Regions from separate parts of the Homo sapiens genome. Here all the other regions are linked to region 2. Evidence: promoter capture Hi-C in 16 types of primary human blood cells and fetal thymus (Javierre and others, 2016). All regions are on one chromosome and are shown on one strand. Each heading gives the region's core, a stretch centred on a gene start or on the middle of the fragment in contact. The rest is flanking DNA. Distances are from core to core; before and after follow the strand shown. Region 1 has its middle 4.7 kb from the start of TTC23L. Region 2 holds the start of RAI14 (retinoic acid induced 14). Region 3 has its middle 170 kb from the start of RAI14-DT. Region 4 overlaps RAI14 (retinoic acid induced 14). Region 5 overlaps TTC23L (tetratricopeptide repeat domain 23 like). Region 6 overlaps TTC23L (tetratricopeptide repeat domain 23 like). Region 7 overlaps TTC23L (tetratricopeptide repeat domain 23 like).

Region 1 (3,339 bases), core at 161-2,660, 180 kb before region 2:
GGGTGACAAGAGCAAGAATCCATCTTAAAAAAAAAAAAAAAGAAAAAAGAAAAAGAAAACATGATAAACAGTTATGGAGAAAAATAAAACCAGGTAAGGGATTTAGAAGGTGATGTGGCCATGGCGGGAGGGGTGTGCCATCTTACATAGTGTAGTTAAACAGGGCCTCTCTGACAAGATGACATTGAGAAGATACCTCAAATCGTGCAACAAATTGTGCAAATATTTAGGAGAAGAACATTCTAAGATGTTAACAGCAAGTGCAAAAGCCCTGAGGCAGGAACAAGTTTAATGGGGTCAAAGAACAGCCAAGGGTAGTAAGAATGAGGAGGAAAGAGACAAAAGACTGTGTCAGTAAAGTGGTGGGGCATCAGGTCATGGAGGGCCTTATAGGCAATTCATCCGTCTAAATATTCATCTACCCACTCAGTGAATACAGAATACCTGCTAGGTAGCAGGCCCTGATTGGCCAGCTATGAGCTCCTCGTGAGCAGGAGTTGTTATCATTGAGCCTTTAGCATTCAGCACAGTGCCTGGGATATATCAGTGTTAAAAAAGAAAAACAAAACAAAAAAAACACATAAACTACAAATGACCTTTAGGAACTCCATTAGTAGAGATTCTCCCTGTGTGTATCAGTTTCCTATTGTTGCTGTAATGTCACCACAAACTCAGTGGCTTAACAAACCACAACTTTATTATTGTATAATTCTGGAGGTTGAAAGTCTGAAATGGGTGTCACTGGGCTAAAGACAAGCTGTCTGCAAGGGTGGCTCCTTCTGGGAGCTCAAGGAGAAAATTTTTTCTTACCTTTTCCAGCCTCTAGAGCCTGGCTGCATTCCTTGATTTGTTCTCTTCATCTTCAAAGCCAGCAGCAATGCAGCATCTTCAAATCTCTGACCCTTCTTTCCATTTTTAAAAGACCCCTCTTGTTATACTGGGCCCACCTGGATAATCTTATTTAAAGGTCAGCAGATTAGCAGGCTTAATTCTATCAGCAACCTTAATTCCTCCTTGTCATGTAACTTATTCACAGGTTAGATTCACAGCTAACATATTCACAGGTTCTGAGGATTAGGACATGGATGTCTTTGGGAGGACTTATTCTGCCTACTAGAGTGTGTAACTTAAATGCATGGTTTTAAAAACATATGGAGGTGACACATAAGGAGCCCTCTTCTCCTGGCTGTTAGCAGCTTGCATCATTTGACTGTGTCCTGCTTCTTTCCATCCCTTACTGATATGGTTTGGCTGTGTCCCCACCCAAATCTCATCTTGAATTCCCACATGTTGTGGGGGGAACGTGGTGGGAGATAATTGAATCATGAGGGTGGGTCTTTCCTATGCTGTTCTTGTGATAGTGGATAAGTCTTACAAGATCTGATGGTTTTAAAAACGGGAGTTTCCCTGCACAAGCTCTCTCTTTGCCTGCTGCCATCCATTTAAGACGTGACTTGCTCCTCCTTGCCTTCTACCATGACTGAGAGGCCTCACTAGCCACGTGGAACTATAAGTCCATGAAACCTTTCTTTTGTAAATTGCCCAGTCTTGGGTATGTTTTTATCAGCAGCATGAAAACGGACTAATACTCTTATGTATCCTCCACTTTATAATCTGGTACATCCAGTTACGGTTCTTGAATATGCTGTTTCTTCCCATTTTAGAGCCTGCTTTATAGTAAGTATGCAGGAATGTCTCTGCTTTCCTCCTACTCGCCTCGTGGGGGCTTTACTTCTCAAAGGAGCCTTTCCATCTGCTGGAACCTATGTTGATTGTTCCCTTGCCCAGCTCCTATGGCTGAGTCCTTGTTCTTTTGTTTCTCAAATATGTCACACGCTCCCATAATGCTTGACAAATCTCTGCCCTGATCTGGTGAATAGAAAATTGCTACTCTTGTGAAAGCCCTAGTTCTTTGGTCTGTGGCTTTTTCCAGCTCACTCTTGGCCTTGCAGTCTGCTGCTTAACTTTGCTCAAAAAATGACCCCAATCTTTGTTGCATAATGTTTCTGCTACTGTCAGCACTCAATATTCTTGTTATGCTGCATTGCAAAATGTTGTGCTTCAACATGTTCAGGGAGTGTTTTCCCCTCACAGCGTATCATGTGTTTATCTGAAGATGGGTGGGTTTAATTATTAAAGGCTTTGGAGTTTGTCTTAAAGTGTATGTAAGGAAAACAAATTAATGACTCTTATTCAAACAACATGAAGGGAAAGGCCATTCTTTCTCAATGTGATGATACGAACAATATTCTATTCATTTTTTTTCTGCCCATATCTTGATGGAAGCTAATGTAAAAATGAGCAATTTGAAAATTCAAAAAATCCTTACACGTGTAAAGATATACATACATACATAGGATAGTCAATTGCATCATTTTTGTAGCTGCAATACTGGAAGCAATTAAATGTCCATAATGTGGAATTATCAAGATAAAATATAGCACCATACTATGCAATTTTATTCAGCAGTTAAAAAGAATGAGATGTGTATGCTGACAGAGAATAATATCCAAGATATTTAAAGAAGAAAGAAAAATACATGCCTACATGTACATATAGACAGAGAATGTCTCAGGTCACCGAAGAAACTTACTAGATGTTGCTTCTGGGTAGATGCACTAAGGATTGGGGAGTAAGAGAAAGATTTATTTGTGGTTCCTTTCATTTGTCCTACAATCTCAGCTGCTATCTAATTGTGGAGGCAGGAGAGTTTCTTTTCATATCCCAATTTTGCCTTATGAGGCGTTTCTGTCCATCAGAGATGACTGGTTTGGGTTTATCTCAGTTTCCTCTCCAGCTGAGTGTCCCCATGAAGTCACCTTCTGAGTTGTCTGGTTGGCCACAGTTGAAATAAAAGGTTCAGTTGAGTATCACACACATGCTTTCTTTGAAATAAAGTTTCAGGGTATAGTAGGAAGGCACAATGAAACTGAAGTAGAGGTGGAATCATGTTGTAAGTGAAGGGAAATGGCCTTGTTACATTGGAGTATGATAAACAATGCTAACTTCTTAAGTAGCTGTACCTATTTCATGTAATTTTGATTATGATTATAACCTGCAACAATTTTAATTATGATTTTAACCTTGCCAGAATTCACCTGACAAGAGTTTTGTCAGGAATTAATTGAATTGTCTTTGTAATGGGGCAGGAAAATGTATCTGGATTTTTTTTTTACATATGTATGTATTACTTTTTCAAAAAAAGCAAGAAGCAAGAGGGAAAAAAAATCCAGCGGAGGCTTCCAAACAGTTAAACAGACTGCAGATTAAATGAGAGGCAATTGTGAATTAAAGGCAACTGTGATTCAACTGCCCCAAAGCGGCTGATACTCAGGGCAG
Region 2 (3,774 bases), core at 332-2,831:
CAGTAATAAAATTCCGAGCCACAGGGCGAACAGGGACCTGCAGGCTGGGGACAGAGCAGCCAAAATCCAGCCTCCCTGTGATTCCCGACCTCTTCTCCAACTCTGTGCAAAGCCCGAGGAGGTGAGACTCTCTTCGCTAAGGCGAGCTTCGGCTATGTCCTAGTGATGGACAGTTCCTCTCTGCCAGGCCCCTGCAGCCTTGAGACCACATTCCCCAGAGATCCGGCAACGTTTCCCCATCCCAGGCAGCTGGGCATTCTCCTCTCCCGGAAGGAAGACGGAATCCCACCCCGATCATGCGTGAGCTGCGGCGAAGAGAAGCCGCTGGTCCCGAGGCGAGGGGCCTCGAGTCCGCAGATTCCCCTCAACATTTCTGGGAGTAAAGTTGGGCTTAGCTGGGCTCCTGGCAAATAAAGAGGAGCCTGGAAAGACAGCCATGCTCAGGCCCCCGTGAGGCCACTTCGGACCCCTCCACGCTGTGCTGGGCTGCATCTGCCTTAATTCCCCGTCTGTTGCTTCTCCAGGCTCTGAGCCCCCTCCACAAAAGGGGGATGCGAAACTCAAAGGAGTTAGGATGTCAACCCTGCAAACCGCAGAAACTAAACCGACACCAACCTGCCCAAGAAGGCAGCGAAGGTGGTTGAGGACGACACCCCACCCCCCACCCCCCACCAGGCAGGGGTCGCGGGAGATGGCGGGCGCCTTTCTGGTGGCTCCACGTCCTCCTTACTCCCGAAGTCCCGGCGGCCCCGAGTCTGCCCCAACTCCAGCATCCGTTCTCCCCGAGCTGCGGCGGGGAAAACAAGGTAGGGGGCAGGGGCAGGCCCAGAGGGGTCTCGCCCCCGCCCTTGGGCCGGCCGAGGGGCTCCCTGGAGTCAGAGGAGGAACAATAGCGGACCCCGCGTCCTGGGAGCCACCCGGAGTCTCCCGCTCGCACCTCCCTCCCCACCTCCTCCAAGTTCAGCCGGGAGGCGGATTGGGCTCAGCAGCACCGACGCGGGGGCAGCGAGGCGCCGCGCGGGGCGAAACAGGTGGGACCCGGCGCAGACTCCAGGGTGCATCTCCGGGTCTGCTCATTCATTCCCACCCGCGCTCCCTCCGCCGCGGCCCCTGCCCCGCGCCCCGCCCCAGCCGGCCTGCGAGTCGCGGAGGACCCGGGAAGAACCCTTCTCCTAACTTGGCCGGGTCTTCCCGCTCTACCCTCATCTCCACCTTCCTCTCCTTCCTCTTGTCCCCAGATCTGCTCTCCGCAGACAGTGGGCTGCCGGCGGTGGACCAGGGAGAGGTGGCGGGACCCCGGCTGCAGCCCGCTCAGCCGCTCCGCCCGGGCGCCGTCCCCAGCGCCTCCCGCGCCCGAGCTCCAGACACAAAGGCGGGGACACGAGCCCGGGACCCCGCGCCGGGAGCCTCCCAACTCCGTGCCGCGCACTCACCCCATCGAGGCGGCGGCGGCGCTCCCCGGACCCAGCTGGCTGCTCCACCCCGCCCGCCGCTTCCCCAGGAAAACGCGGCCGCCGGGCTCGCTTCCTGCTCGGCTTCCTGCGCCGCAGTCCCTCCTCCTCCCCCGCTGCGGGGGTCAGTGGGCGCCGAGCTCCCGGGCTAGGCCGGCGGGGCGGGGGCAGCGGCAGCACCACCACGTGGCCGCCGGGCGCCGGCCCCCGCCGACCTGGATCCAGTGGGAGCGGGAAGGGAGGCGCTAACCATTCCCCTCCCATTCCACCCCTCGCGGCCCCAAATTCCGCGAGTCAGGTGACCCGGCCCCGGGCTCTGGCCGGGACCTGCGGGGGGTGCTCTCCGCCCTCCAGCCCCCGGCGCATCTCCCCGGCCCGCGCGTCCCGGCTGTTCGTGGCTTGCTTTTAGTCTCCAGGGATCGTGGGACCCTTCTCCGCGGATCTGTTTCATCCTCTTAACCTGAAGTTAGTGGAAGCCCCCCACGCTCTGACCCCTGGGTTTAGGACGGATGAGATCCCAGATACTGTTTATTTCTGATTAACTTCCAAAGTCGTTTGTGGTAGTGGCGAGTGTTTCAAAGTCACGGATCCAAGCCCCTTCTGACCAGAATCTAAAAGGTTGTTTTCCAAAATCATTGAACAGAAAGTAAAGTAGAATGTGCTCACGTTCTCCGGACTGAACCAATTGGTTGAAGTGACTGTTTTCTAGCACTCATTGGGTGGCAAGGCAAGACTACCACCGTTCAGTGTTGTTCTGCTCAGGAGTTAGAAAGGAGAAACCTACAGCCTGAACTGACAGGCGAGATTGCGCATGGGAACGCCTTCAAAATAGTGTGTGAGAAGCCACGGGGTACAGGCTCACTGCCCCAGGTCCCCGACAGCTTCTCTCCCTATCCCAGCCCACTAAGGCCCGACCTTTCAATTACGATGGACTCCACCATTAATTCCAAGGATTTCAAAGCTCTCTATCTACCCACTCATCTAATTTGGGCTGGCTTTTCCATGCATTCTAGTCATGCTAACCAGCTGTGACTTCAGTTCTGTTCACCTAAGCTCCTCCCTTCTCCTCGTTAGCTCTGCCTCCTTTGCTCAGGGAAGAAAGCTTTCTAGAATAAATAACGTATTGAGTTCTTTCTGGGATCTACTGTAAGTCAATTGAACTTAAGAGGGAAAAAAGGTCGATTCCAACAAAATTGAAATTCACCCTAACAGCTCAGTTTATAACGTGTCAGCTACATACTAATATTTATATGGCAGATATTACCTGTTCCCTCCCCCCGCCCCATCCCCCTTTCCTTCCTCCCTCTCCCTACTAGGGAAGAGCCTATCTCCCCTTTAACAGTTGAACTTGACAAACAAGCATCAAAAGCCTTGTAACTAGGTGCAGGGTCTTCACTTCCTACAGCAAAAGTTCCTTAGCCAAGTGAGGAACAGCTAAAGCAAGATGTACACTCCTCTTCCTGTCCTTTATCCCTCTCAAACAAAGTCACACTGTAAAAGAAACATGAACTGACCAACATTCTTTTGGTTTAATGCTGGCAATTTCTACAATAGTGTTTCATCGTGATTCTTGTTAATGACATATTGTAGGGTATTTAAGGGGAACATTACTGCCTGTGAGTTTTCTGCTCTATTTTTGCAGGTCAGTCTGGTTCAAGTAGGGGCAGCTGGGAGGATGGGATTTGGAGCATGGTACAGGTAGATGATGCTGTCTTGGAAATTTGACATGTGTGTATTCTGTAGGAACAGTTGACATTTTGAAGGAGTTAAAATATTAGACAACATTAAACAATGATTGTCTAAGGCAGGCACATCTGACTTTGATTCACAGAGGTCCTGTCCCTCTTCTTTTTTCTCTGTCCCAGCCACCTCCAAAGAGCCTACCAGCCTATCACCTCTTAGATTCCCATAGGTGGTTTGTATATGATTCTCCTTAGTTTACACTCCCACCCTCTAAAGTCAGCAAGTCTAACTCTGGATGAGGGATCGTTGTGAAAGTATTCTTATTTTTTTGGGCTGTGCCAAGATCCTTTTCCAGATCCCCACTTTTGAAACTCAAAGCAACTTTGTAGTCTGTAGACTGAGCATGGCAGCTAAGTTCTGCCAACTGCAGGGGGATTAGTGGGGAAGTAAGAGGTTCAATAGCATCTTCTTATTGGTTGTGTTGCCCAGGCGTTTTAGAAATGCTAATTGGGTTCATTGGATACATTGAATACCACCCTTTGATGAGAACTAGGCCCAGGTGAAAGGGGTTGAGTTAAAGAAGCAAAAATAAAATGACCAGCTAACCTGTGTAAAGTAGTAAAACCTTTTGGGAGGAGCA
Region 3 (3,340 bases), core at 519-3,018, 170 kb after region 2:
GCTATGATCACGCCATTGCACTGCAGCCTGGGTGACAGAGCAAGACCCTGTCTCAGAAAAAAAAAAAAAAAAAAGATTTTACCCAATTTCCCTTTGACTAGTCTGTCATGAAAGTGAGACTACAAACTGTAAAAGAACGTTAATCTTCATGTTTAGGAAGAAACTCATCTCTCTCCTTTCCCGCACAAAGTCATTTTTAAATTATCTTAAGGTAGCGATGATTTTGATGCTCCATCAGGTTCCACTCTTTTTGATAAAATAGTTAACCGTAATAATCTCCTCTGGCTCAAGCCGTTTCTGACTTTAGGCCCTGTAAGCGCTCTGGACAAGCTCTATTGTTTATATGGAGCAGCAAATGGGTTGGAGGGTATTTTGAAGTTAGAGCAAGCATTTGGCTGCAGAACTAAGGTCACCAGCACTCCACCATCTTTATTTGTCCCCCATTTACCCCGTCGCTGCCTGGCCCTGTCTGCAGACTGTGGTTTCCGGGACACATGGGCTAAGCCTGGCAGCACAGGGCCGCAGATTCTCAAAGCTTTACCTCTGGATTCAGTCACTAGAAAGCTGTGCAGATGGTGTCACATCTCTCTCGAGCACTTAGTGGCTCTGGAGTAAATATTTGTGGGATAATAAATGAACAGTTTACTGCAGGACTCGCTGAAGTCTGCCTAGGGCCACATCTTGAGACAGGCTGCCTGCTCCCGCTGTCCCTGCCATCCCCCCAGCGTCTGGCTCACCCACGGTCTATTCTGCATGTCTGCTGCATGCATTCAGCTTAGAAAAAGCCGACTCCCAGAGGGCAGACACTAATATGAGTGCAATTGAGGATACTTTTTTCTTCTTTTCAGAGAAAATGAATGAGGAGTCATTCAGAAGCCTAAGGAGAAGATCTAGGAGGAGCTGATAGAAGAACAGCCAGTGCTGCTGAGGACTGGCTACTGTGAAGGTTGTGCAGTTTGGTGGGAGCCCTGGGGAACTCCCTTCTATCCTGTGTGTGATTGAAACCCTCACCCCACAATAAACACACACACAAACACACACACAGACACACACACATACAAATCCAGAGAAATGCAAAGCCTGCTCTTGCTGGGTGGGCCTCATGGCTGCTCCTCTGATCAATGGCCCACCAGAAAGGGACAAATAGACTAAAAACAAAGTTTGTGTCTAAGAACACAAAAGTGGTTTCTCCAATGGGAAAATAGGCCCGGGCTCTGTGGAGCTCCTCCAGAAAGCCCAGCATAGGGCCCAGGAGGGGCCAACCCCCCCCCACCACAGCCACCACCGCCCCCCCGCCCCCGCCAACACCCCCCCGCGCCACCACTGCCCCCGCCACCCTCCCCTCCCGCCCCTGCCACCCCCGCCCCCTGCCCACCCCCGGCCAGCCGCTGTTTCCTTGCTGCTGCTTTCACCTCCGGCTCCACTCACTTGCTGATACTTTTCCCCACTTGAAATCTGAGCCCAGGCTGATGGTTGTCAAATCCCATGGGCCCAGTGCTTACAACAGGGACACAGAGAAATGGCCTTTGAAGCCTGCACTTGAATTCAGCCTTGCCTCTCGCTAACTGTGTCATGAGGAGCAAGCCACTAAATCTCACGGAAGGTGAAGTTCCCTAGTCTATAGAGGGTGACTCCTCCTGGTACCTGGTACCTGTAAGGAGGCTGCGCATCCAAACAAATCAACCCAGTCAAGGAACCACGTTTAGTAATGGGATAACTAGATGCTAATTAATTGTACCTCTTCCCCCTCACTCCAACTTACCTTATGTACCAGTAGTCAAAAAAGGACGGGCAAGAAGGGAGAGAAGGAAAGGGAAAGAAAAAAGTAGAAGACTGACAAGACCATTCCTGGGTCCTTTAAGTAGTTTCAACAACTGTAAAAATTACATAGCAATCAAAAAGACTAGAAGAAAACCTAAGATATTAAGCAGTGAAGGTTATTTGTCAGTGAGAGAAATATAATTTTTATTTTCTACTTTCATAATAAAAAATACTTTTTTAATTTTTTTTTTTTTTGAGACAGAGTTTTGCTCTTGTTGCCCAGGCTGGAGTGCAGTGGTGTGATCTCGGCTCACTGCAACCTCTGCCTCTTGAGTTCAAGTGATTATCCTGCCTCAGCCTCCCAAGTAGCTGGGATTACAGGCACCCGCCATCATGCCCAGCTAATTTTTGTATTTTTAGTAGAGACAGAGTTTCACCATGTTGGACAGGCTGGTCTCGAACTTCTGACCTCAAGTGATCTACCTGCCTCAGCCTCCCAAAGTGCTGGGATTACAGGCATGAGCCACCGTACCTGGCTTGAAAAAATACATTTTAAAGATAATCCCCTCCCCCCAATACTTCTCCCCAACTCCTCCTGTTTTGCACATGTTTAACATGTGCAATGTCACAGGGCGCCTTAGTTGGAGCATGAGGCATCCTGAGTCCTTGATGACACAGGCAGGCAGCAAAGGAGGAGGACACTCACATGGGAAAAATAAACACTGGGAAAGGGAGAGAAGCCAGACACCCAGCCCAGCAAGGAGCACAGACAAGGAGAAACCCCGGGTGGCAGACACTATTGGCTCTGGGGGATCATGAGGAGCCCAGGTAGGGCGTGAAAGGTGAGGGGATAAAGGTATCACTAGCAAGACCTGGGTGGGATGACAAGACAACAGCCAAATAGGCTGGGGCCCCAAGGGCTAATCTTAATATGGAAGTAAGGTGATGATGATAGGGAAATCGAGGCAGAAGCTCAGTTCTGTGGTTGCCAAGCACAGAAACCCTTTTACTTAAAATCTCCATGACACCCAGGGTTCTTCCCAGAACACAGAACCCAGGAGATGGGCGTGTGACATGATGTCAGGTCACACTAGGTCTGAGGCTGACATGCTGATGTTCTTTCTGCTGCTGGCCTGATAAACTCAGAACATGGGCAAGGCTGAGCCCGAGGTAGAGGACAGCAATGACCAAAACTGTGAGGAGCTGTTGATGGACAGGAGGGTGAAGATATCAAGCTTCAGAGCTGTCAGTTCCAAGGTGGAGGACTGGCTCAACAGGAAGGTCTAGTAACACAGGGTGGTGGTGGGGCGGGGGTGGCTCTGCTATCTGCACACGAGTAGGAGAAGCCAAGGAAACTCTGGGCTTTATCACAGCTTAAAAAAAAAAAAAGTCCCATAGCATAAAAATGCAAAGAATTTATCAATAGTGAAGTTCTGTGAATGATCATGAAATAAGCTTTCTTTTAAAAAGATTTTCTATAAGAGAAGAAATACATATTTATTATAAAGTTAAAAAAATAGAGAAAGGTATAAAGATGACAACAACATCACCAAAGCTCCATCATCCAGAGATAACCCAC
Region 4 (3,716 bases), core at 895-3,394, 160 kb before region 2:
TATACCATTTTAGATTCCCACCAGCAGGAAATGGAGTTCTAGTTCTGCAACATCCTCAATCCTCACTTGGTAGTATCAGTCTTTTTAAACTTTAGCCATTTTAAATAGATATCACTTTTTCTTTTTTTTTTTTTTTTTGAGATGGAGTGTCTGTCGCCCAGACTGGAGTGCAGTGGCACAATGTTGGTTCACTGCAACCTCTGCCTCCCAGGTTCAAGCGATTCTCCTGCCTCAGCCTTCCCAGTAGCTGGGACTACAGGTGCCCGCCACCACACCTGACTAATTTTTTGTATTTTTAGTAGAGACGGGGTTTCACTGTGTTAGCCAGGACGGTCTCGATCTCCTGACCTCATGATCCACCCGCTTTGGCCTCCCGAAGTGCTGGGATTACAGGCATGAGCTGTGAGCCACCGAGCCTGGCCTAGATATCACTTTTGTCTCCTCCCTAAGCTAACGTAGGAATAAATGTCACTTTTTATCTTGTTTTTTTTTGTTGTTGTTTTTTCAGAAATGACAGTCTTATACTCTACCTCTGAAAAATCATAATTTGTGATATTCTTCGGATTGCACTGCTTCTTTGAGGCACAGTCATATCAGAAGATATTATCGTACTAACTATAAGAGTATAGTTGCCTTGTCTTACATAGAAATTCATCTGAAGAGTTTATTAGTAAAGTCTAAAGTGAGGGAAATGATAGGTTGATAGAATCTGTTTCAGATTAATGTGTATCCAAGTTAAAAAAAAACATCTTTAATAATTCTAAATAAGGGAAAGTAAGTAAATATAAAATATCGAAATTTCATGTTAACAATTATAAATTTTATTTCCCCCTTGAGTACAATTTCTCAGTATATTAAACAGATATTAAATGGAAATATCCTCCCACTTCCTTAAAATGTTTTGCAACCACAAATCTACAGAACCAGGTGGATAAAACCTAATGGATTTTCTAACATTTGTAAAATAAATACATATTACTTTTATAGTCAGGAAAAAAATTAACTATACAATTCTCAGTAAGACAACAGAGAATAACACAAGTTTCTGTCTCTTTGATTGGAATTAATATAAACTTAATTGGGTAAGAAGACTGCTTATCTAGTAAGTTCTTATCTTTGTCTCTTTTTAAAAAAACTTTAGCACTTTGTATTTGGAGCAATTTAAGATTTATAAAAAAGTTGCAAGATAGAAACCTTCACTTATTTCTTCTAATGTTTACAACAGATGTAGCCATTATACATTTGTCAATTGGTAAATTACTACTATCTAAATTACAACTTTATTCAAATTGCGCCAGTTTTTCGAATAATGGCCTTTTTCTGTCCCAGGATCCAATCTAGAATATTTCATTATAAATAGAGAAGTTCCTGAAATATAATTTTTGGCATTTCCTCAATATTCTGCATTCAGGAAAGAATGAGGAGAATAACAGGTAGAAGCTGGTAACTTCCACACCTTATTTTTGAAAAAATTAATTTATTTTTTAGTTGACAAATAAAAGTTGTATGTATTTACCATGTACATCATGATGTCTGCAAATACGTACATAATGTGAAAAGGCCATGGAGCTAATTAATCTCACACACTTATCATTTTTTGTGATGAAAACACTTAAAATCTGCTCCCTGAGTGATTTTCAGAATCCAATGCATTGTTATTAACTATAGTCACCATGTTGTACCATGGATCTCTTGAACTTATTCCTTTTATCTGGATGAAATGTTGTACCGTCTAGCCAACATCTCCCCAATACCTCCCACCACTCCCCCAATTATCATTCTACTCTCTGCTTCTATGGGTTCAACTTTTTTAGATTCCATATAAGTAAACTTTGTCCCTGCTCCCCACCACAAGACACTCGCTCTGTCGCCCATGCTGGAGTGCAGTGGCCCGATCTTGGCTCACTGCAACCTCTGCCTCCTGGGTTCAAGTAATTCTCCTGCCTCAGCCTCCTGAGTAGCTGGGACTACAGGTGCCTGCCACCAGGCCCAACTAATTTTTGTATTTTTTTCTTTTCTTTTTTTTTTTTTGAGACGGAGTCTCGCCCTGTTGCCAAGCTAGAGTGCAGTGGCGCGATCTCGGCTCACTGCAATCTCTGCCTCTTGGGTGTAAGTGATTCTCCTGCCTCAGCCGCCTAAGTAGCTGGGATTAAAGGTGCGCACCATCATGCCCAGCTAATTTTTGTACTTTTAGTAGAGACGGAGTTTCACCATGTTGGCCAGGATGGTCTCGATCTCTTGACCTCGTGATCCACCTGCCTCAGCCTCCCAAAGTGCTGGGATTACAGGCGTGAGCCACCAACCCCGGCCTAGTTTTTGTATTTTTAGTAGAGATAGGGTTTCGCCTTGTTGGCCAAGCTGGTCTTGAACTCCTGACCTCAGGTGATCTGCCCACCTTGGCCTCCCAAAGTGCTGGGATTCCAGGTGTGAGCCACTGCACCCAGCCCTCTTGTCTCTTTTTTTTTTAAATGAAGAAAATCAATTATTGGTTTGTAAATTTAATTTATTCACTCAATGATTTTTTAAAAATTTTAAATTATTATGGATACAAACTAGCTGTACACATTCTTGCTTTATGGGGTCCATGCCAGAAAAAATAATCAAGGGGTACTTCATGGTGAAAAGGTTGTGAACCAATGATTCAGAAGTATATTCTGTTTTTCCCAGTGTTATATAACTTAAAGCAAGTCTATCATGTATCTTAAAATACAGTAACAAAACTGAATACAGAAAGGAAATACCTTGAAGGGTGGTTCAGCAAAAAATACCGATTCCTTTCCCGATAGTGGAGTCGAAGTTATTGATCTTGGGGAAGAGACATCACTCAACTAAAAAAGAAACAAAATGAAAATCATTAATAAAGAATGTATCTTCAAACTCCTCTTCTCCAGTGCCGAAGAATCAACCTGTTTAACCAATGCAATGAAATCTAACAGTAAGTATCCTTGGCATCAATTAATTCACGGGTAGAATATTTTCAGTGCAATTCAGCTACTTCAAATACTTTCTGAAAGTTTACAGAATATAACTGTGCTCCTATATTAGAATCACTTTTTTAAAAATCTATAAAACTTCTATTGCAGGTTAAGAATATTAATAAGTATGCTAACATACATTTAAAAAATACTTATGAGATGAGCTATTCCTCTCTACTATTTAAATATGGATTATTCTCTTTATGGCCTATGAATTTTTAAATAACAAATTTCGATGTGTTTTTACCTGCCATTACATAGATTACTGAGCTTCCTCCTCTATGCAACCGTCACTATAAAGCTCAGAAATGAAAACTACTTTTAATATTAGCCAACCTTAAAAGCAATTAAAAAGGCAAATGTATTGCAGCAATGTTTTAAGAAACGAACTGAAATTCATTTTCAACTAATTGCCTCAATGGCTACTCATTCTCCCAGTCCTTACTAGATCTTTTAACATAAGGAACTAAAAATAAATTGAACTTATCTTAAGGGAAAGTTTCTGTGATAAGATTTTGAGAAATTTCCTTGAGACTTTTCAAAAAGAGGCTATTCGATTCTACTGTTTTTTTAAAAATAGATAAGAATCAACATTATTTCCATACTAATCATCAATCCTTCTTACCACAATTTGTAATTTAAAACTGCTAAGGAAAATTTTAAATATGCACTTAAAGGTCAGTTCTAAAACATTCCTTTTTGGCCTAAACAAAATGACAAATTTATGGCTTTCTTGTGGTG
Region 5 (3,290 bases), core at 678-3,177, 240 kb before region 2:
CAAAAGACTGCTCCAGAAACACAGTTACTATTAAGTGTTCTTTAGTCACCTCCTATTTCTACCTCAAGCCTGAAAAAAGTGGTTTTCATAGCCCTTTTTTTACTTGAAAAGAATATTTGTTCTGTAGAATATGAAATACAAAATTTTATGAACTTGGGGTTTCTATGCAAGTTGCACTAAAGACAGGCTCATTCTCTATTACTGGACTGTATAAAATATAGAAAGCTATCTGGCACTTTAACTTCCTTTGCAGTAAACCAGGAGATAATGAGATTCCAAATTAGCTGAAGAAATAGGCACAGATTAAGTTAGTTGCCCAGGGGTCTCATAAATTCAGAGGTGGGCAAAGAACTGTAAGAGGGCTGCATCTCTGCTAGGGATAGTAAGTGGGAATCAGCCTCGGGCCTACTTCTGTCGCACCACAAGGTGGCAGGATTCCCCTTGTCTGAAACCTGAAAGGACAACTGATTTCCATAGTGTATATATTATCTTTGAGTTTAGGTGACTGTGTCAGACTGCTTGTCTATGAGACTAACAGTGTTTCCAGAACCTGATAAGTCTATATCTTTTTCGAGATGTTAACCAGCAAAATATTTTCCACATCAGCTTGGTAGTAGCTTTTCAAAATATTCAGCCCCTATCTCCGTTTGCTTCGTGCAACAGTGGTGCCAGTAGAAGGTAATAAAGTCAAAGACCAGCTTTCAGTAAAACTAAAAATAGCTGTTACTTAGTACATGATTACTATGGGGCCAGGCACTCTGCTAAGCACTTTACATATAATGCATTATCTCATTTATTCTCACAACAACACTGAGATAGGTACTATACTTCATCCCCATTTTATAGATGAAGAAACCAGGATTGCCCATAGCTAGAAAGTGGTAGTCCTGGGGTTTGAACTCAGGCTTGCCTGTCTCCAGAACTACAGCTCTTAACCACCATGAATCAAAAAGATTAATTCATAGGGATGCACTGAAGTCATATTTCTATGATCAGATTAAATAGTTGATGAGATAATCATAGTTCATAAAGACTTTATGTCCTAAAGTGGGGCCAAAATTCCTTACCAAACTGCAAAAGTATTCATGTATACCCTCAGGGCAAGTATACACTACACCCTTTGCTTTCAACAAAACCAAACCTTAGTTTCTCTACTTTGATTCTAAAGACAGGGCAAGGTTTTATTTGCCAAAATTTAAATCACTGATCATTTCAAAAAGACTTTAGGTATGTAAAATACAATGGTTTCTAAAAAACTGATTTGCAGCCAGGTATGGTGTGTTCATGCCTGTAATCCCAGGACTTTGAGAGGCTGAGGCGGGAGGATCACTTGAGCCAAGGAGTTGGAGGCCAGCCTGGGCAACATAGTGAGACCTCGTCACTACAAATTTAAAATATAAAAATAAAAATGTTAAAAACCTGATTTGTTCCCAACATGCCAATAAGGAAGGTTTTGTATATATATGTATTTTTTTTAATGTTTAATTTTTTTTTTATTTTTCTTTAGGAGACAGTCTTGCTCTGTTGCCCAGGCTGTAGTGCAGTGGCACAATCTCGGCTCACTGCAACCTCCACCTCCCAGGTCAAGCAATTCTCCTGCCTCAGCCTCCCGAGTAACTGGGACTACAGGCGCATGCTACCACGCCCGGCTAATTTTTTGTATTTTAGTAGAGACTGGGTTTCACTGTGTTTCCCAGGCTGGTCTCGAACTCCTGAGCTCAGACAATCCACCTGCCTCAGCCTCTGAAAGTGCTAGGATTACAGCATGAGCTACAGCACCCAGCCGAAGGTTTTGTATATTAAAAGTCCTGAGAAGCCCTTCAGAAAAGTAACCTGTGTCACTTTGTTTAAACCTGTTTTTTTTGTTTTTTTTTTTCCTTAAATGATTTTTGTCTTTCTGCTACAGAGCCTTTCTTCCTCCCCCAGAGAACTGGCACACATCCCTTGGAATCAGCATTTCTTGCAGCCCCTTTCAGGACATGCTGCCCTGTACAACAGCTGTAAAGTACTTACCATTCCTCCATACACTGCCCTCTGTCATGCTTCTGTGCCTTTGTATGTAGAGTTCCTTCTTCCAGGAATGGCTTCTCTTCTCCATCTGGATGAACTGCTACTTGTCCTTTAAGAAATGGCTCAAATGTCACCCTCTCTATGAAGTGTTTTCCAATTCTCATAGATTGTCTCTCCTTTCATTGCACTGAGAATGCTATTCCAGAACTTAAATTTCATGTTATTATTTCTTCATGTTTTCTCTTACACTAGAATGTTGTCCCCTTAAGATTAATGACCATGTTTTATTTATCTTTATTACCACCTGCAGCTCTAACTGCACCTGGCACTTAGTAGGTGCTCAAAAAATGTTTGTTAAAGGAATGAATGAAGATGAAGAAACTGAGACTCAATGTTTAAGTGACTTAAGGTCGCATGGTTTTTGGGATTCACACACAAGGTGCCTTGACTCAGAGTACAGTGCTCTTTCTCTATACCTGAACAGCAAGTATGTGGTAGAAGTCCAGCTGTTCCCCCACCCGTACCCCAGGGCAGACAACACTAATAATCAAGCTCCACCAAACCCAGCCTTTTGCTCTGGAACCTCAAGCTCTGCCTGCCCTATTCCATGCTATCCTCTCCTATCAGACCATTTCTGTGGGCGTGGCAGAGTAGCTGGGGATTGCAGAGCTCCCCACTGCTCTGCTAAAGATAAGGTACACTGAGCTGGCTCACTGTGGCTTAGCAGCCCTTGTTCCCCATAAAAGAGACCCTCAAGCAGGGAACTAAAGGCTTCTGAGTTTTCACTTCTCTACCTGCCCCAATGCCTCCAGCTAGTCCTAGAATCCTGATTTGGAAAAGCTGCTGCCCCTTGTTTGGCTACCTGGCTCTGGTGGAGCAGATTGTGCTCCTCACTCACTCATACCAAGGTTTGGCCAGATATTTCCTCCTTAATTTTGTAGATGGAGTGTTGGAATGTTTACTAATAAATAATAGGAAAAGAAGATGAATGCAGCAGCCTGGAAACAACCCAGCTTATGGAACATACATTTCATCACTAAGGTCTTGCCCAAGACTGGTCTGGCTGATACAAAATGTACTGCAGCATATCACCTCCTTTCTTTTTCCTTGCTCACTTCTCTCTGGAAATAATCACCTCCCAAATCCCCATCTCCACCCTACTTTCCTTCTCCAGCCCCTCAGCCCAAAAGAGGCTGTTCCATTTTGTTCATATGACCAAGAGGACTGAATATCACTAATAGTTTAATAGGCATTGAGGCACCTTCCTTACTCCCCTCTTA
Region 6 (3,450 bases), core at 201-2,700, 200 kb before region 2:
AGTTATGTCCCCAGGTAGTTCACCTTCCACACTAAGTTGTAAAACCTTTGAGGGCTTCTTTATGTTACATTTCCCAAAGTGTTCATCATGGCATTTCACATATACAAGTTTCTCACTACTCACTGAATGACTGTTTATTGAGAGAAATTAGCCTTTTGGCTGCTGGAAAAGGCTCAAAGTGAAATGAGCAAAGCAGGGCTGATGACTATAAAACATGAATGGGTGCAGTGAGGCATGAACGCACACAGACACACACATCCGCCTACACAGGAGGCCAGCTTATATATTCTGTCCACTTTAAAGCAGTTAGAGGATGAATGACAACAACACTGAGTGGAGCTGAGCAAGCACTTCATCTCTCTTGAAGATCTGCCATTTTTCAAAGCCTTACTTATTCCATGGACCAGACACTAAAAAAGCTGAAGTGAAGAAACTGAAATAAAAGCTTAAGTGAAGAAAGCAAAGAGGCACTGGGCTATTCTCAAAGAAAGCTTACAGTCACAACCTATTCTAAAAAAAAATCTAGGCTGGTATCAGAAAATCTGGGTTCAAGTCTAGGCTCCACTATACCATGTGGACACTTCATCTGACCAGCAAGCTGCCTTTCCCATCTAGGAAAAACAAACAAAAAAGTCTCTCGTACAGGAAAACTTGTGTCTCCTCCAACTTATTGCCCCAACGTAGTTCTCTATTCATGCAGCAGGAAAAACTGTCAGTTAGGGAGAAAAGGATTTATCACCATGTTTTGTGGTATAACCTGTTCACTTATCTTGACTTAACTTGGAATCTAATTGGAAAAGTAAAACTCAAAGGCAGTTTGTGGCTCATTATGGAAGGGATTGATTTCAGAAGATCTAGGCCAACCTCCTTCTAGACCTACCCTAGTCATCTTCAAGGCAAGACAGAGAGGGCAGCATCTGGCCTTGCCTAGTTTCAGAGAAATCTCCCTCTCAAATGCCTTCCTCTTCAGTTCAAGTTCATCACCTCAAGTTTGAATTCCAGTGAAAAACCCTTAGCTAGTCTCTGTGAATCTGGGCTCTCCCAGGGCCCAAGGAGTGTACTTGTCTCTACCAAACCAAGTTGCAATGACCTACCAACCGCCAAATCCATGGGTCTCTCCTCAGCCATTACCTTATTTGACCTTCCTCTACCATCTGAACTGTTGAAACCACTGTTGTACTTCTTTTCAAAACCCTCTCTCCTCCCTTGGCTTTGATGACACGGGTCCTCCTGAGTCTTCTATTTTCTTTGCTGGCCCCCCTTTACCCTACCCATTCTTAAAGCTCTTGCTCTCCAGTCTTCAGTCCTCTATTCTCTTCCCCTCTCTTTCTACACACTACTACAGAGTCTCGCTCTGTCGCCCAGGCTGGAGTGCAGTGGTGCGATCTCAGCTCACTGCCACCTCCACCTCCTGGTTCAAGCAATTCTCCTGCCTCAGCCTCCCGAGTAGCTAGGATTACAGGCACACACCACTACACTTGGCTAATTTTTGTATTTTTAGTAGAGACGGGGTTTCACCATGTTGACCAAGCTGGTCTCCAGCTCCTGACCTCAAGTGATCCACTCACCTCAGCCTCCCAAAGTGCTGGGATTACATGCATGAGTCACCACACCCAGCCACTACACACTACTTCTGATCAAGCTCATCCACTCCTATGGCCTCAACTTGCTCCTATGTGCTCATTTCTCCCAGACTAACATCTTTCCTGAGCTCTAGACCTGCTTTCAGAAACCAAACTCAGTAGCTTCTTCCCCCTTCCTCCATGATATGGTTTAGTTGTGTCCTCACCCAAATCTCACCAGGAATTGTGGCTCCCATAATCCCCACGTGTCATGGGAGGGTCCCAGTGGGAGGTAATTCAATCACAGGGGCAGGGTTTTCCCATGCTGTTCTGGTGATAGTGAATACATCTCATGAGATCTGATGGTTTTATAAACGGCAGTTCCTCTGCATGATCTCTTGCCAGCCGCCACGTTAGATGTGCCTTTGCTCCTCCTTGGCCTTCCATCATGATTGTGAGGCCTCACAAGCCACATGAAACTGTGAATCCATAAACCTCTTTTTCTTTATAAATTACCCAGTCTTGGGTATGTCTTTATTAGCAGCATGAAAACAGACTAATACACCCCACCACTTGGTCTTTCCCTTTCATTCTCGATTTAAGCTAATTGTCCAGGTCATGCCTACTTCAACTTCAATTCTTCCCTGTCCTTCCCACTCCATACTGAATGGGGCACTAAATGTCACCCATTCTACATTTTAGGTTATCTTTCTTCATTCCAACTGCCATACCCAATGCCCTCATCGACTCTCATCTGGGCAGGATAACGGCCTAACTGGTCTTTGCCTCTTCTTTCTCTACCCAGTCCAACCCATCCTGGAGTCTCTCATTTTATAACACAAGCTTGATTATTACCACCTCACTTCAAACCTTTTAATAACTCTCCACACTCCCTGATATCTGGGCCCAAATTACCTTTTCAGTCCCATTTCCAAACATGAGCTGTCTGTCCTAAGGTGTCTTCCGTCCTACCTTAACCCCCTGGGTCTACAGAGAAGCTACAATATTCTGTGTAACGAGTTTTATACAGAGTGCCCTCCTCTCACTTCCTATGCCTTAGATCAACATATATAAAGGACCAACTTTGTACTCTCTACTTCTCCCCTCAAAATCTACTTGGGGGCCAGGTGCCATGGCTCACGCCTGTAATCCCAGCACTTTGGGAGGCTGAGGTGGGAGGATCACTTGAGGCCAGGAATTTGAGATCGGCCTGGGCAACGTAGAAAGACCTTATCTCTACAAAAATAAAAATATAAAAAGTAAAAAAATCTACTTGATAAACCTATTCTCATTCTTCAAAGACAGGACAAATATCACTTTCTCTCGGCAGCCTTCCCTGACTTTCCTCAATGGCAATACCACTGAACTGCCTCCCCAGAATTTTGTTCCTACCTCTAGAATGGTACCTATCATAAGACCCCTGTGTGCTCCTAGAGCATAGGGACCACCAATATTCATTTATGTATCCCCAGCACTGACTGCAAGTGCCACCAGGCTTATAACAAGAACTCCATAAGTACTGAAGGAGTAAATCCCTAAATTTGACTCTTATCATGAAGGCAGTAAGTTTTTGAGAAAATCAGTCTGATGGGAATAGAGAGATTCCAAGTAAGGAAGCACGGAACGCCACTAGGGGAAGATCCTTCCTGGTCACTCTGAAATTTCATAGAGGTGGCTGCCTGCTCTGCCAGTACATAAGGACATTCTCCTCTCCCTAGCCATAGCACCTTCTTTCAGAACACAACACGTGTTCTTAAAGCATAAAAGGGCCTCGCTGTGCCCCCACTGTGACCCACAGCATCACTGTCCTAATGCTGTGATCTCAGCTACCTGTGATCTTGCCACATCAATAAATGAATCTAAAGTTGCATTAAAAATAAATGGGTGT
Region 7 (3,648 bases), core at 714-3,213, 220 kb before region 2:
AAAAAAAAGTTTGTCAGAGAGGGAACCGTTAGAAGCAAACATATGGCTGCCAATTTTCTTTTGCCATCAATATCGAGTCCCTCTAAAATACTTTGAGCCTACTCTGCAGTTTCCAAGTACAAACTAAATCTTGTCGGACAGAGTTGCTCAGTTTCATCAAAAGAATGAAACCAATCTGAAAAAAAAATAATTCGGTTAATGCTAGCAAAGAATGAAACAATGTGGTTCTTGCCTAGTTTTATCTGGGACCTATCTGATCTCCAGTATCTGAATTGTAAGATGAAAAATGCTATTGTGATCTAATAAACAAACTAGCAATTCTGTTTATGCATTGATCATATTTACCTGTTTTTCTCCATTTTGGACAAGCCATTTGCAAAATTCTTCAGTGGTGCTCAGTGTTTCAAAATCCTCTGAGCCCAATGTTGCTCGATATGCATTGATACTTCTTATGAAATATATCTCAACAGCATCTGGAAAAATTGAAACAATTATTTAAGGCAAGCTGCTAACCTTTACAAATGTCTAATATCAGCTTTGGCTCAATTGACATTTTCATGCTTAAAGTCCATGCTTGTTCTCAAGCCAGGTCTCATAAGGACTCTTTAAAAGTCTAAGATGTGTGGTTTTTTTGCTGTTGTTGTTTTCTTTTGTTTTTTGAGATAGAGTATCACTCTGTTGCCAGGCTGGGGTGCAGCGGTGCAACCTCGGCTCACTGCAACCTCTGCCTCCTGGGTTCAAGTGATTCTCCTGTCTCAGCCACCCGAGTAGCTGGAACTACACGTGTGCGCCACCATGCCCGGCTAATTTTTGTATTTTTAGTAGAGATGGGGTTTCACCATGTTGGCCAGGACGGTCTCAATCTCTTGACCTCGTGATCCGCCCACCTCGGCCTCCCAAAGTGCTGGGATCACAGGCATGAGCCACCGCACCGAGCCCTAAAATGTGATTTAATGACATCAGATGATGTTTTGGTTTTTATTCTCCTTATAAAATCCATGGAATTTTTTGTAGCAAAAAAGAAAGCTTCTGTCTGAATAATCTTATTATGCTAATACTACAAATAACTACCATATTAAACTCCCAGGTATACTGCAAGACTATATTTTTAGCTAAATAAAACTCTGATAGTAATGTTTACTAAGGTTCCTGTTTGGGGGGTGCTGGGAGGGAGTAAGTTGTGATTTTATAAGTATTTTAAATATATAGTTGTTATGGCTTGAAAATTTAATTTTAATGTTGTGTCTTTCCAAACATAATACGTTTATATCAATCTAGAAAATACACAGAAACAATGGGAAAATTTTGCCAATACCATACTTTTCTTGTGTGTAAACTTATGGAGTACAAGTGCAATTCTGTTACATGTATAAATTGCATAGTAGTCACAGCTTTTAGAGTATCCATAACCCAAATAACATACATTGTACTCATTAATTTCTCATCATCCACCCCACATCACACCCTTATGAGTCTCCATTATCTAACACTGCACTAAGCCCATGTGCACACATTTGTTAGCACCCATTTATGAGTGAAACCTTGATACTTGACTTTCTGTGTCTGGCTTGTTTCACTTAAGATAATGACTTTCAGTTCCATCCATTTTGCTGCAAAAGACATGATTTCATTCTTTTTTATGACTGAATAGTATTCTATTGTGTATATGTACCACATTTTCTTTATCCAATCATCCACTGCTGAATACTTAGACTGATTCTGTTATCTTTACTATTGTGAATAGTGCTACGATAAACATACAAGTGCAGGAATCTTTTTGATATATACCTTCCTTTTCTTTTGGGTAGATGCCTAATAGTGGGATTCCTGGATCAAATGGTCATTCTATTTTTAGTTATTTGAGAAATCTCCGTACTGTTTTCCATAGAGGTTGTACTGATTTACATTCACACCAACAGTGTATGAGAGTTCCCTTTTCTCTGCACCCTCACCAACATCTGTTTTTGTTTTTTTGTCTTTTTCATAATAGCCACTGTGACTACAGTAAGATGATTTCTCATCTATACTGTCTTCATTGCTGTGGTTTTTTAGTAAGTCTTGAAGTTGGGTAGTGTTAGTCCTCCAACTTTGTTCTTCCATGTTGTTGGTTATTCTGGCCTCTCCATGTAAACTTCAGAATCAATTTGCTAATATCCAAAAAATAACTTGCTGAGATTATTATTGGAATTGAGTTGAATCTATAAATCAAGTTGGAAGAACTTTATATTTTTTTATTGAGTCTTCTTATCCATGAACATGGAATAGATATTAAAGATATCTTAGTTTATTTTAGTTCTTTGATTTCTATTTTTTTCTTTTTGAGATGGGTCTCACTGTGTTGCCCAGGCTGGTCTCAAACTCCTGATCTCAAGCAATTCTCCTAACTCAGCCTCCCAAGTAGCTAGGACTACAGGAACACACCACAATACCTGGCTAGTTCTTTGATTTCTTGCATCAGAGTTTTGTTGTTTTTCTCACATATATTTCACAAATACTTTGCTAGATTTATACCTAATTATTTCATTTCTTGGAGTGCTAATGTAAATGGTATTGTTTTAAATTTTCTTGGAGTGCTAATGTAAATGGTATTGTTTTAAATTTTAAATTTTACTTATTCATTGCTGGTATATAGGAAAGTATTGACTTCTGCATATTAAACTTGTATCCTGAATCTTTTCTATAATCACTTATTAATTCCAGATATTTTTGTTGATTCTTTCAAATTTTCTAATCAGACGATGTCATCTGCAAATAAAAAGTTATATTTCTTCCTTCACAAATATTATAGTATAGTTTTTATTTCCTTTTCTTCTCTTATTCCATTAGCTAGGTCTTCCATTATGATGCTGAAAAGGAGTGGTGAGAGGAAACTGTCTTGTTCCCAGTCTTAGAAAAGCTTCTAGTTTTTCACCATTAAGAATAATGGTGTTGGCTGGGCACAGTGGATCACACCTGTTATCCCAGCACTTTGGGAGGCCGAGGTGGGTGGATCACCTGAAGTCAGGAGTTCGAGACCAGCCTGGCCAACATGGTGAAACCCCGTCTCTACTAAAAATACAAAAATTAGCCAGGCATGGTGGCAGGTGCCTGTAATCCCAGCTACTCAGGAGGCTGAGGCAGGAGAATCACTTGAGCCCAGAAGGCAGAGATTGCAGTGAGCTGAGATCACACCGTTGTACTCCAGCCTGAGCAACAAAAGCGAAACTCTGTCTCAAAAAAAGAAAAAAGAAAGAAAGAAAGAAAAAAGAATAATAGTGTTAGTCAAAGGAGAACCAAAAAAAAAAAAAAAAAAGAACAATGGTGTTAGCTGCAGGTTTTTTGTAGATGTGACTTATCAGGCTGAGGAAATCCCCCTGTATTCCTAGTTTGCTGAGAGTTTTTAATCATAAATGAGTGTTGGATTCTCCCAAATGCTCTTTCTGCATCTATTGATATGATTATGTGATTTTTCTTCTTTAGCCTGTTGGTGTGATGCATTGATTGAGTCTCAAATACTGGACTGGCCTTGCATACCTGCGATAAATCCCATTTGGCTGTAGTGTATAATTCTTTTTGTACATTGATGGATTCAACTTGCTGATGTTTTGTTAAGGATTTTTGCCTCTATGTTCATGAGATGTATTGATCTGCAGTTTTGTTTTTTTTTAA

Evidence for each region. Contacts are between HindIII fragments. The CHiCAGO score rates a contact against its expected background, and 5 or more counts as called.
Region 1: a fragment that was not itself captured here is called in contact with the fragment with the promoter of RAI14 in region 2 in 3 of 17 cell types (naive B cells, total B cells and endothelial precursors); the score reaches 8.4 in naive B cells.
Region 3: a fragment that was not itself captured here is called in contact with the fragment with the promoter of RAI14 in region 2 in 3 of 17 cell types (endothelial precursors, M0 macrophages and M1 macrophages); the score reaches 18.1 in endothelial precursors.
Region 4: a contact is called between a fragment that was not itself captured here and the fragment with the promoter of RAI14 in region 2, in 3 of 17 cell types (naive B cells, total B cells and endothelial precursors). The highest score is 5.3, in naive B cells.
Region 5: a fragment that was not itself captured here is called in contact with the fragment with the promoter of RAI14 in region 2 in 3 of 17 cell types (endothelial precursors, naive B cells and total B cells); the score reaches 10.4 in endothelial precursors.
Region 6: a fragment that was not itself captured here is called in contact with the fragment with the promoter of RAI14 in region 2 in 3 of 17 cell types (total B cells, naive B cells and endothelial precursors); the score reaches 6.7 in total B cells.
Region 7: a contact is called between a fragment that was not itself captured here and the fragment with the promoter of RAI14 in region 2, in 4 of 17 cell types (naive B cells, total B cells, endothelial precursors and 1 more). The highest score is 7.9, in naive B cells.

The regions. Positions count from the first base shown.
Region 1 is chr5:34,832,800-34,836,138 of GRCh38, reverse strand. No RefSeq gene overlaps it. Among named protein-coding and RNA genes, the nearest start is that of TTC23L, 4.7 kb to the left of the region's middle. The HindIII fragment of the contact is 4,892 bases long and covers 1-3,339 here.
Region 2 is chr5:34,654,135-34,657,908 of GRCh38, reverse strand. RAI14 (retinoic acid induced 14) reads right to left here and starts at 1,581. Exons shown (of 18, transcript NM_015577.3): 1 at 1,434-1,581. RAI14-DT (RAI14 divergent transcript) reads left to right here and starts at 1,736. Exons shown (of 3, transcript NR_183264.1): 1 at 1,736-1,916. RefSeq lists a silencer at 1,574-1,623. The HindIII fragment of the contact is 8,769 bases long and covers 1-2,555 here.
Region 3 is chr5:34,488,807-34,492,146 of GRCh38, reverse strand. No RefSeq gene overlaps it. Among named protein-coding and RNA genes, the nearest start is that of RAI14-DT, 170 kb to the left of the region's middle. RefSeq lists an enhancer at 658-1,233. The HindIII fragment of the contact is 2,461 bases long and covers 538-2,998 here.
Region 4 is chr5:34,813,695-34,817,410 of GRCh38, reverse strand. It overlaps RAI14 (retinoic acid induced 14), which reads right to left. Exons shown (of 18, transcript NM_015577.3): 12 at 2,742-2,828. Among named protein-coding and RNA genes, the nearest start is that of TTC23L, 24 kb to the left of the region's middle. The HindIII fragment of the contact is 5,167 bases long and covers 1-3,716 here.
Region 5 is chr5:34,895,599-34,898,888 of GRCh38, reverse strand. It overlaps TTC23L (tetratricopeptide repeat domain 23 like), which reads right to left. Exons shown (of 11, transcript NM_144725.4): 10 at 2,014-2,119. The coding sequence ends at 2,111. Among named protein-coding and RNA genes, the nearest start is that of RAD1, 18 kb to the left of the region's middle. The HindIII fragment of the contact is 6,562 bases long and covers 1-3,290 here.
Region 6 is chr5:34,851,418-34,854,867 of GRCh38, reverse strand. The region is part of intron 4 of TTC23L (tetratricopeptide repeat domain 23 like); the gene reads right to left. The region is part of intron 1 of LOC124900959 (a long non-coding RNA gene); the gene reads left to right. Among named protein-coding and RNA genes, the nearest start is that of TTC23L-AS1, 14 kb to the right of the region's middle. The HindIII fragment of the contact is 1,914 bases long and covers 494-2,407 here.
Region 7 is chr5:34,877,006-34,880,653 of GRCh38, reverse strand. TTC23L (tetratricopeptide repeat domain 23 like) reads right to left here. Exons shown (of 11, transcript NM_144725.4): 9 at 346-473. Among named protein-coding and RNA genes, the nearest start is that of RAD1, 37 kb to the left of the region's middle. The HindIII fragment of the contact is 1,870 bases long and covers 1,029-2,898 here.